Regions from separate parts of the Homo sapiens genome. Here region 2 is linked to region 1. Evidence: promoter capture Hi-C in human tissues and cell types (Jung and others, 2019). All regions are on one chromosome and are shown on one strand. Each heading gives the region's core, a stretch centred on a gene start or on the middle of the fragment in contact. The rest is flanking DNA. Distances are from core to core; before and after follow the strand shown.

Region 1 (5,251 bases), core at 1,752-4,251:
AACTACCCCAAAACTCTTCCAGCTCTGGATTCTAACCAAGACAATAATGATATATATATATATAAAGATTTCTTTGCAGATTCCTAAAGTGACTGCCATAAGACATTCCTTCCTGGCATGTGGAGCATGGAACCAGAAGGAAGAACAGGAGAACTAAGTGCTGAGGAACAACCTTTTCAGCTTTTGGGGTGCAAGGCCAGCAGCGTGTCCACCATGCTCTTGCCGGCTATTTTGAGTGACTGACGCCGGCCTGGCCTCTGACTGAGGCTGGAATGCACACCACGGGTTCCCTGTTGGAGGGGGCCCCAGGCAATAGTCACCAGAGTGCTGTGGCCAGTTAATTCAATTATGCCACCCGCTGGAAAATGAGTGACCAATCACTCTCTGGAAAAGAAGTAAAACAGAGAAAGAGGAATCAACTTTGCTAAAAAGCCCAGTCTTTGGGTCAAGTCAGACGACACTTATTAATTGCTCAAGACTATTAATTGGATGGGGGGGTGTCTGACAGAAATGAACGCTACACACACACACATCACATCACACACACACACACACACACAGGCACCAAACACACCACACACCTGCCTCAATGAGTTTCTTTAGAAAAGGGGCGCGCTGAGCAACCCCAGAGCAGATGGAAGGGAGCGCTGACCAATATGTGCATATGGCATGGATGATTTCCTCAACTTTGTTTCTTTCAGGGGAAAACAGCTTTTTTATTTTTTTAAGTTGGAATGAAGTGGGAGGGAGCAGTTGGCCAAATGAAGTTTCCCTGCAGTTCAGATGCTGGTGTGGGAAGCCAAGACATAGGGTTAAGAGGGATGCTTTCTAAGGTAGTCAAGGGCCCTGGCAAGGGAAATCTCAAAACTAAAAGAGAGCCATTTTATCCTTCCTGCTTCATTTTCCTTAAGTACAAATGAAAGGGTCTTTTCTCACTCTTCAGGATCTTTAGTTTCCCCTCATGTCCACAAGAGTTCAACAAGCATGTAAGTTAAACCCTGGACACTCTTTGTTTGGATACCTAAAAGTCACTCAGGAAAGTGAACCATGAAAGTGGGGTTAGGGGGTGGAATGCGATGATTGCCAGTTAGTTGGTGATGTCCTGATGTTCACAGGGTCCAGGCTACTGGAGGTCATTCCATGGGGTGTACTCAGTTCAAGGCCAGAGCTCATTACCGAGAGTATCATAAAGCTATATCTTCTGAGTGCGGTGGCAGGGGTGAGGGGGGCTATGTGTGGCTCTTATTCCAGACAGGGACAAACATGTGGAACAAACACTCTGGGCCAGCAGGCAGAGCAGGCGGCCACATCTTCCTGAGCTTCCTCATTGTTGTTCCCCGGGGAGAGGGTTTTGTGTCTGCTGCCTGGACCTAAACTGGGAAGAGAAGGTACCGTCACCTTCAATGAAGGTGTATCTGACAGTAGGGGTGTTGGAAAGGAGATTGCAACATGTCTGAGAAGGGCTATCCTCTTCCATTTGACCGGGACTAACTGGGAAGCCAATATCATCCACCAGGAAAAGCGCACCTGGGCATTCCCCAAGATAACCTGCAAGTCCTACATATTCTTCCAGGGAATGGTCTGCACTTTCCCAGGGGCAGGGGTGCCTGAGTTAAGGTCGTGGGGGCAGTCTCCATCTCCCAGAGATGATTAGTTATTTTCTCCGTGGGTAAGCTATGGAGGCCCCACTCAGACCTGGTAAACAAAGACTCCACTGCAAACATTTTTGGGATTCAACCCCTAGAGCCAACAGCACTCATTTTACCCCTTTTACTTAAAGATTAAGTTGGATATTCTTCCTTTTTGTCATCATTGGTCTCTCAGTCTCCTTACTTCATTAGGCCAAAATATGGAATTTCAAGGAGGGGTGGGAGGGGGGCAGCACTGGCACACCTTGAAATAGGGAACAAGTGTTGGCTGCTGACCCCATGTGGGGCTGAAGAATCGTGTATCTCCATTTCAGACAATGCATTTCAATTCTTGTCGTGTGCCTTTGTCCATTTGTATAAAGCAAAGAGCTCTGAGTGACAGCCCCAGTTAGCCTGCATGAGCAGATCCTAATAAACCCTCCCAAACCCCAACCTAAAAAAAAAAAAAGCCACATGCCTGTTTGCCTGAGGCTTATTATTAAGACACCTTCTCAGCTTAAACACTTAAAAGCAAACCAAATGAAATGGCAATTAAGACTGAATTACCCCTTCTATCTATGAGATGAGTCTGTGGGGCCAGCCAGTTCTTTCTTATAATGTAGACACTGAGGAGCAAAGCCTCAGTATTTCAGGTTTATAGCTACCACCACCCCCTCCAGGCACTAAACAACTTGGTGGAGGAAGCTGAATTTTGAAGGAAGGAAAGCTCAAAAACTGTTTGAAAGTCAAGAAATCCACTGAAGAGATGGAAATATGTGTGCACTGCTTCCTTCCTGCCCTCTATTTATAAAATATAACTTCCAAGCATTTAAGGGTTATTTTGGGGGTAATAGTGTTCAAAAACCTAATGCTACTGCTGAACGGTCTACACCCCACCACCACCAGCAGTGTTTCCAAAAGGGAAGAAGAAAAACACAAAAGAGGGGGGATATGGTTTGGTTTGGGGAGTGAAAGACAACAGTTTACCTAAATGTAGAATCTTGTCTTACATCTTTATTCCCTTGCATTTTTCCTAAATGCATTGCCAGTTACACCATTTCCTGATGATGGAAACTTGGGACTGTCCATCACCATTATTTATTTTTAAAGCTGCTGAAAAGTGTAAGCCACCGCTTGATTTTGCCTTTCAAAAAAGGGGAAAGAACCCAAATTCAATGTAAATATGGAAAGACCAGCATTGTTTCCACTTGGGCGAAGGCAGACACCCCAATCTGGGCAAAATTGATTCGGGTGGTTGTTGGAAAAAGCAGCTTTCAGCATCCAGGGAGTGGAACCAATAGGAATGAACACTTCCCCATATAAAAGGAAGCTTTAATTAATATATATTTCTATCTCTAATATACATATATTGGAGCTAGAGCTCTAGCTTCACAATAAAATGTGTGCAAATACTCTCCACAGAGATAAGTCCCCACCTCAGTCGGTATAGAAAAGCATGATAAAGGTTGGAAAAAATGGATAAAAATGTTGAAAGAACCTCCAGTTCCTTATTAGGCGAAGATACAATATTTATTCCTTGTCTCCTGGGATAAATCTCTTCTGCCTATTGTCCTCCCAGTTCTCAGTGCTGATGCTTAATTTTCAAAACTTCTATATTACCAAGGGACCTACGACATCAGCCAAAGAAATACTCAGCAAGTACAAAATCTGTTCCAGGGAGCTGCTTTTGTGCAGAGGGAAAATTTTGTTCCTACAGGTTTTTAAGTGGGTACGAGGCAAGGAGCTATCTGATCCGGGCAAAACCATTACAATTTAGATATCTACCTATAGAACATTTTTTTTTTCCTTTAAAAATTGGAAAATACAAGAAGTTTGGATTTTTTTTTCCCGATTCTTTTTTTGGAGGGGGAAATTGCATCGTAAGCTTTCGGAGAAACCCAACATGTCAACTACCTTTCCGGGACTAGTCCACGATGCCGAGGTATTATTACTTTTTTTTTTTTTTTTTTTTGAGCGCGCGTGTGTGTGGCGGCGGCGGCGGTGGCGGCGGTGGCGGCGGCGGTGGCAGCCTCCCCTGTCTCTAATCTATATTGGACCGTTACGTTTAATTATAATCTGTCTTTCGGGGGAAGTTAAGGAAGGAAAGGGGAGAAAGTTCGTTATGACATCTGTCGCCAGGGAGGGCAACTCTCTGCCACGTTAAGAAACATTTGCCATAATGAGCGGGAAAACATAATCTTAATAATAAAAGGGGGGAGTGAAGAGAAAGAGATAGAGACGGAAAGAAAGATTCTCAGAAAAGCAAAGAAAAGGGACTGGTGGGGAAGCAGTAGATGCACAAGGGGGATGGGGAAAACGCACCCCTTTTGGAATGGGCTTATTCAAGGAAAGGGAAGCAGAAAAGAGGGAGTCGGATTCCCTCCCTCGAATGACTAAGGAAGGGAGCAAGTTGAACGATTTGCACAGACTGGATTTTTTAAAATATATGGACAATGATTTTGAGCAGCCCGGGCCGAACATCTCGGCATAGACAGGCGCAGAATTTCGATGCTGGGGTCTAGTTAGAGTGGCAAGGCGCCCCGGGCCAGCGCTCTTTTCGGGTGGACTCGTTCCTCTGCTACCCGCGGCCCCGGAGTCAGTTGCAAACCTGGATCCCAACGCCAAGCTCCCTGCACAAGTTGGGCAGGGGCTGTGTGTGTGTCTGTGTGTGTGTGTCTGTGCGTGTGTGTGCGTGTGTGGTGTCACCCGCACCTATATAGGGTGGGGGATTTTTTTTCCGCTCTCTCGACTGTGAGGACGAGGCCGCCCACCCCCAGTTCGCCTGTTTGCAAAGGCTCTCTGGTGAAGACGCTGAGACCCGGCTTCGGCTCGGCCCGAGTCCTACGCGCTCGCTTTCCTTGGAGTGCCAGAGAAAGCTCCTGGCTCCGGGAGAGCGGCGCCTTGGTTGCAAAATGACAAACCTCAAGTTTTTCTGCTCTCCCTTTTCCCCCTCTTCCTTCCAGATACGTCACGACGGATCAAACAGCTACCGTTTGATGCAGCTTGGCTGTCTGGAGTCAGTAGCCAATTCCACTGTCGCCTATTCCTCCTCCTCTCCTTTAACTTACTCCACCACCGGCACCGAGTTTGCGTCCCCCTACTTCTCCACTAACCACCAGTACACCCCGCTCCACCACCAGTCCTTCCATTACGAGTTTCAGCACAGCCACCCGGCCGTCACCCCCGACGCCTACTCTCTGAACTCTCTCCACCACTCGCAACAGTACTACCAGCAGATCCACCACGGGGAGCCCACCGACTTTATTAACCTGCACAATGCGCGGGCGCTCAAGTCGTCCTGCCTGGACGAGCAGAGGCGGGAGCTGGGCTGCCTCGATGCCTACCGCCGCCATGACCTGTCCCTCATGAGCCATGGCTCTCAGTATGGAATGCACCCAGATCAAAGACTCCTGCCAGGGCCCAGCCTGGGGCTGGCCGCCGCGGGAGCAGACGACTTGCAGGTAAATAAGCATGCAGCGAATTTGTCTGCTCCCTCCCCTCTTCGCCCTCCCCCTGCCGCCCCATTAATGCTCCGACTGTAAAGCGTCTCTCTTTCTCTCTCTCTTCTCCTCTCTCTCTCTCTCTCTCTCTCTCTCTCACACACACACACACACACACACACA
Region 2 (5,251 bases), core at 1,938-4,437, 66 kb after region 1:
AAAATAGAGATAATCCTTCCTGGCTTTTCAGTTCCTTTTTTTCCCATTTTTTGAGAGTATGTTCTCTTCAATGTCTAGAACAAAATATGACCCTTTGGGACCTATGAGTACCTTGATCCAAGTGTGACAGTGATAAGAGTTCAGCCCTCTGTCATGTAGTGCTTTTAAGATAAATGTGTCAATAAACTATTCTTGTTAATAATGAGTAAGGTAATACAAAACATTTTCCTGTATTTTCTTGCTTCTATGCCTCTTTGGAAGCATTTTAGAGCAGTGGAATTTAAAATATATATATATATATATATACACACACACACATACATATTTGAATTCTTTACACAATGAGTGTGCCATCTCCTTACAAAAACCAAGTCAGTATGTGAGAGGTGTCATGACCTATAGTGTCTAAGAGTATGGACTAGAAAGCCAAACTATCTGGTTCAAATCAAGGCTCTCTTACTTGCTACTGCCTGACTCTGAGCAAGTTGCCACACCTCTCTGTGCCTCCTCCATTTTCCCATCTGTAAAATGAGGATGATAATAGATACCTACTCACAGAATTACTGTCAGAATCAAAGACTTGGTGTATCTAAACTGTTTAGAGCAGAAAAGGGGCATGTTAGTGCTATGTGAATATTAGCTACTGTCTTTAATACTTAGAATTTGGACAAATCATTTTTTATCTAGAGATCAGTTTGTCTTCAGCTTATTGTACCCTTTCTATGCCAGACTTCGTCCTAGAGACTGAAGATACAGAGTGGAATAGAATATTTTTATTGATGTCAAGCTTCTCATATTCTCCTATGAAGATAATAGCCATTAGAATATGGTATGTGTCATGATGAAAATACACACAGGGTGCCCAGCACAAGCCAGACCAGGATCTAGGAAACAGGAGATGGGGGGAGATGGGAGAGTGAAAAATTGAGGAGGAGAGTTGTGATCAGGGAAATGGGAAGCTAGAGATCGGGAAAAAGGGCTTTAGGATTCTAGGAGACTTAAAAACATTTGGGGCAGTAAGCTATTTTGAAAACTAACAGACACACCTTGTATTTCTGGTTATTCCTACCTTCCTTCCACATTTTGGGGCAGCTAACATGTTGCCTGCACTGCCTCAGGGAAGGAATGTGACCCAGAAGAATGGAGGCAACAAAAGTTTTAAAGAAACTTTCATAAAAATTTTCAGTTTCAAAATCTTAGGCTCTAGAGGGGACTTGAGATTTAAAAGCATCTCAGTCAGGACCTTATTACTTCCACCCGCTCCGAAACCTCCCCCACAACACCACACACACTGGAGACCAGAAAATAATCCATAGGTTGGGGAAAGAACAAAGAAGAAGGAGTTTTTTTTGTTGTTGTTTGCTTGTTTTTTGAGATGGCGTCTTGCTCTGTCGCCCAGGCTAGAGACGGTGGCACAATCTCGACTTATTGCAACCTCCGCTTCTTGGGTTCAAGCGATTCTCCTGCCTCAACCTCCTGAGTAGCTGGGATTACAGGTATGTGCCACCACGCCCAGCTAATTTTTGTATTTTTAGTAGAGATGGGGTTTTGCCATGTTGGCCAGGCTGCTCTTGAATTCCTGACTTCAGGTGATCCACCCACCTCGGCCTCCCAAAGTGCTAGGATTACAGGCATGAGGCACTGCGCCCGGCCAAAGGATAATTGTTTAAAGCTTAGTGTAGCATTGCATCTCTGAGATAGGGCCATGTCCTGGGGGTGAGGTTGGGGTGTGAATCTTGTTATAGAGGTGGAATTATGTCCTCATCCCAGAGAAAAGCCCAGCGGAGGAAGAAAGCCCAGCACAGTACAGAAGCAAAGAGCTGTCTATGTGATGTGCATCTAGGCAGGTGGCACTCAGACAGACTCACATTTCTCCTAAGGAGTTTATTTCAAGATGGCAGGGACAGACTAGCATGATGTGGATGCAAGAGGAACAAAGGAAGCAGCACTTGAATATTTCAGGTTCACCCAAGAGCAATCCAGATAGCTGGCAAGTATGCAGATTCCTCATAGGTTGAACATAAGGACACACAAGAAAAACCTGAGACATGCCAATCAAAGACTAGATAGGAATTCAGACCTTCCCCCTACTCAGGGATTTCAAAGAGAATGAGTTAAACAAGTGTTAGAAGGCCGAAAGAGCAAAAATGAGACACTGAGTCACCCAAATGCTCGTAATTGAAAAAGCAGCTACCATCCCCAGAAATGGGGAAACAAAAGTAAGGAAGTAAAGTTACGTGAATGTAGGAACTTTGAAGCAAGCACACCCCTACCCATGGGTGTTGCTTGAACCTCTCTCTGAGAGAACCCACCTCAAGATTAATGCTGGCAGATTTTTTGAGAGGGTAGAGCGTCCTAATTCTGGGAGTGCAAAAGAAGCTGGAAGCTGGAGCCTTAACCTACCTCTTCTGCTGGAAGGATGATAGCAGGAACTGGAAATATGCTGGAACATCCTTTCCCCCCTTTCTTCCTTCCTTCCACTTCCCATCTGTGCCCCATTGCAGAACCAAATTAGAATCCAGCTTGCAAAGGGTTATGAGAAATGTAGTTGGCAGACTTCCAGGCCTAGCATCACAAAATACAGAAGCCAGCATCAACAGATGAAGACCTAGGCCAGATGTTCCTCCATGTCTGGTGCTACATAAGCCCTCCCCATGAAACCCTGGGACACATATGTAACCCAGGAAGACCCTGAGTGTACTGAGAGCTAATTTCTGCCACATTTCCAAATGAAGGCTCAAAAATAGAAATTAAGTCACATTATAGAAAATAAAGTGACATTTTTCATATAGCCAAATTGGCAGACACACCTACTACACAAGTAAATTATCTATTTCAGCTACTTCCCATTTGCATCATAATTTAATAAGACCAAGACACTTAAGAAAAATTGAAATAACTAAATAAATCCCCATAAGAGTCAGAAGAAAAAAGTTTAATGTGGCCATGTTGGTTATTGCCAGTTAGAACCTATTGTAAGTTTTCAAAGCTATTCTTTAATATTGCATTTCCTTAATTTTTTTATATCAAGAGCTATTTGGAAAACAGGCACAGAGGTATGATATAAATTTATGTTTAGTCTTCCTTCCAAGTTGAGTCATGATGTCTTACTGTCAATAAAACCTAACTGTGGGTTTAAATATTGTCTTTTGTTTTCTCACCATCAGCGTTCTCCCTGGGCAACATAATGTTCTACCATAATTTCAATTACATGTCTTTTCTCATGGCAGAGACCAATTGTCATCTAACAAAGTCCAGTTTTCCTTTGTCCTGCCGTATATTCCCATATGAGAGATTGGCAATTTTTTTTAAATAAAGGGCCCAATAGTAAATATTTTAGTCTATGCAGGCCATGTGGTCTCTGTTGCAACTACTCAACTCTGCTGATGTAGCATGAAAGTAGCTATAGACAATATGTAAACAAACGGCCATGACTGTGTTCTGATAAATCATCATTTACAAAAGTAGGCAGCGGATTGGATTATTCCTGAGGGCCATAGTTTGCCAATCTCTGACCTAGACTAAACTTCTTGTTGTTTGCAGCCATGCGATTAAGTTATCTCCAGAGGAAGAGTGGGAGTGATACTTGCTACTTCCAGGATTTACCAGTAAAAATCAGTCATGCACTTTTCTCTGTGTTCTGTCCTCTTCTACATGAGTTATATGATAAAGTTCAGAGCAAGGATTCTCCACCTTGGCACTATTGATAAAGAATTATCTGGCACATTTGGGGCCAGATAATTCTTTATTATGAGAGCTATCTTGTGTGCTGCAGGATGTTTAGTAGATTTTTGGTTTCTATGCAGTAGACTTCAGTAGCATCCCTCACAATTATAAGGAGCCAAATTATCTCCAAACATTGCTAAATCACTCACAGTTGACAGCCACTGTTTTACAGATGGCAGAGACACAAGATAGAGAGTACCTGGATCCCGGAATGGCCACATGGAGAAGAAGCACACATTATTTTGACCTAAACATATATTATTTTAAGCCACTGAAATTGGGATGAGGGAGGCTGGGAGGGTGTATTTACTACTGTAGCTTGCCTGTCTTGGCACAATGCTAATGAATTATAAATCCATAATATTCTTCCGCACTCCAGATCCATGTTGTCCATTTTCAATGGTTATTATCATCTTATGAAAAATAGCATCTTCGAACTCAACACACATTAAAATATGGAATCCTAATCAACCTCCCTCAACTAATTACACATCCCAAATTTTCTATGTTTGCTAAAGACAACTCCATACAGTTGCGCAAGACAGAAACTTGTGAACCATCTTAACTATCCTTATCTCTATCCTCTCTTACAGTTAATCACTAGATTCTGATAAATTAATATAAAAATATTATAATAAATTAACTTGGCTGGGTGCGGTGGCTTACGCCTGTAATCCCAGCACTTTGGGAGGTCAAGGCATGGGGATTGCCTGAGTTCAGGAGTTCGAAACCAGCCAAGGCAACATGGCAAAACTCCATCTCAACTAAAAATACAAAAAATTAGCTGAGTGTGGTGGTGATTGCCTGTAATCTGGGCTACTCGGGAGACTGAGGCACAAGAATCGCTTGAACCTGGGAGGCAGAGGTTGCAGTGAGCCGAGATCACGCCACTGCCCTCTAGCCTGGGTGACAGAGCGAGACTCTGTCTCAAAATAAATAAATAAATAAAGTAAGTAATTAATTTGTCAGGACCTAGTGAATATGACTATCAGATAGCCAATCACTTAGTTCCGGGCACTAGCAACTCATGATTGCATTACTGCAGTAGCCTCCTAACTGGATTTTCTGCCTCCAGTCCTGCTTTTTATTCCATTCTCCTCACTGGAGAGATTCATTGTAAAAAGTAAATATGATTTGCACATCCCAAATAATCCTCTTCATGGCTTGCTATTGCCCTTATGACAAAGTCAAACTTCTATACAATTGACAATATATCATTCTGACTTGGCCTTGCTCTCTTCTCCAGTCCCTTTCAGCTTTATCTTGCTTCCCTGTTTCCCCCACATCATCCCCTCCCCACACACACAGTCCATTGTCTAGCCACATTAAGCTTCTTGGAATTCCTGAAACTCTTCACAATCTAAGAGTTTGCCAATATGGTTCTCTTAGCTTGGAACATTATATTCCACCATCACCATCCAGCTCCTACTTATGATTCAATCAGCACAAAAGTCACCAATTCAATGCAGCTGTATTCATTTTCTACTGTTGCATAACATATTATCACAAGCTTAGTGGCCCAAAT

Evidence for each region. Contacts are between HindIII fragments. The study calls those that stand out against the background at their distance.
Region 2: a contact is called between a fragment that was not itself captured here and the fragment with the promoter of TFAP2D in region 1, in 3 of the 25 tissues and cell types used here (adrenal gland, neural progenitor cells and stomach).

What each region holds. Positions count from the first base shown.
Region 1 is chr6:50,710,525-50,715,775 of GRCh38, forward strand. TFAP2D (transcription factor AP-2 delta) reads left to right here and starts at 3,002. Exons shown (of 8, transcript NM_172238.4): 1 at 3,002-3,570; 2 at 4,592-5,089. The coding sequence starts at 3,532. RefSeq lists an enhancer at 4,736-5,251. The HindIII fragment of the contact is 8,496 bases long and covers 1-4,570 here.
Region 2 is chr6:50,776,330-50,781,580 of GRCh38, forward strand. No RefSeq gene overlaps it. Among named protein-coding and RNA genes, the nearest start is that of TFAP2B, 40 kb to the right of the region's middle. RefSeq lists a silencer at 3,533-3,733. The HindIII fragment of the contact is 3,917 bases long and covers 1,230-5,146 here.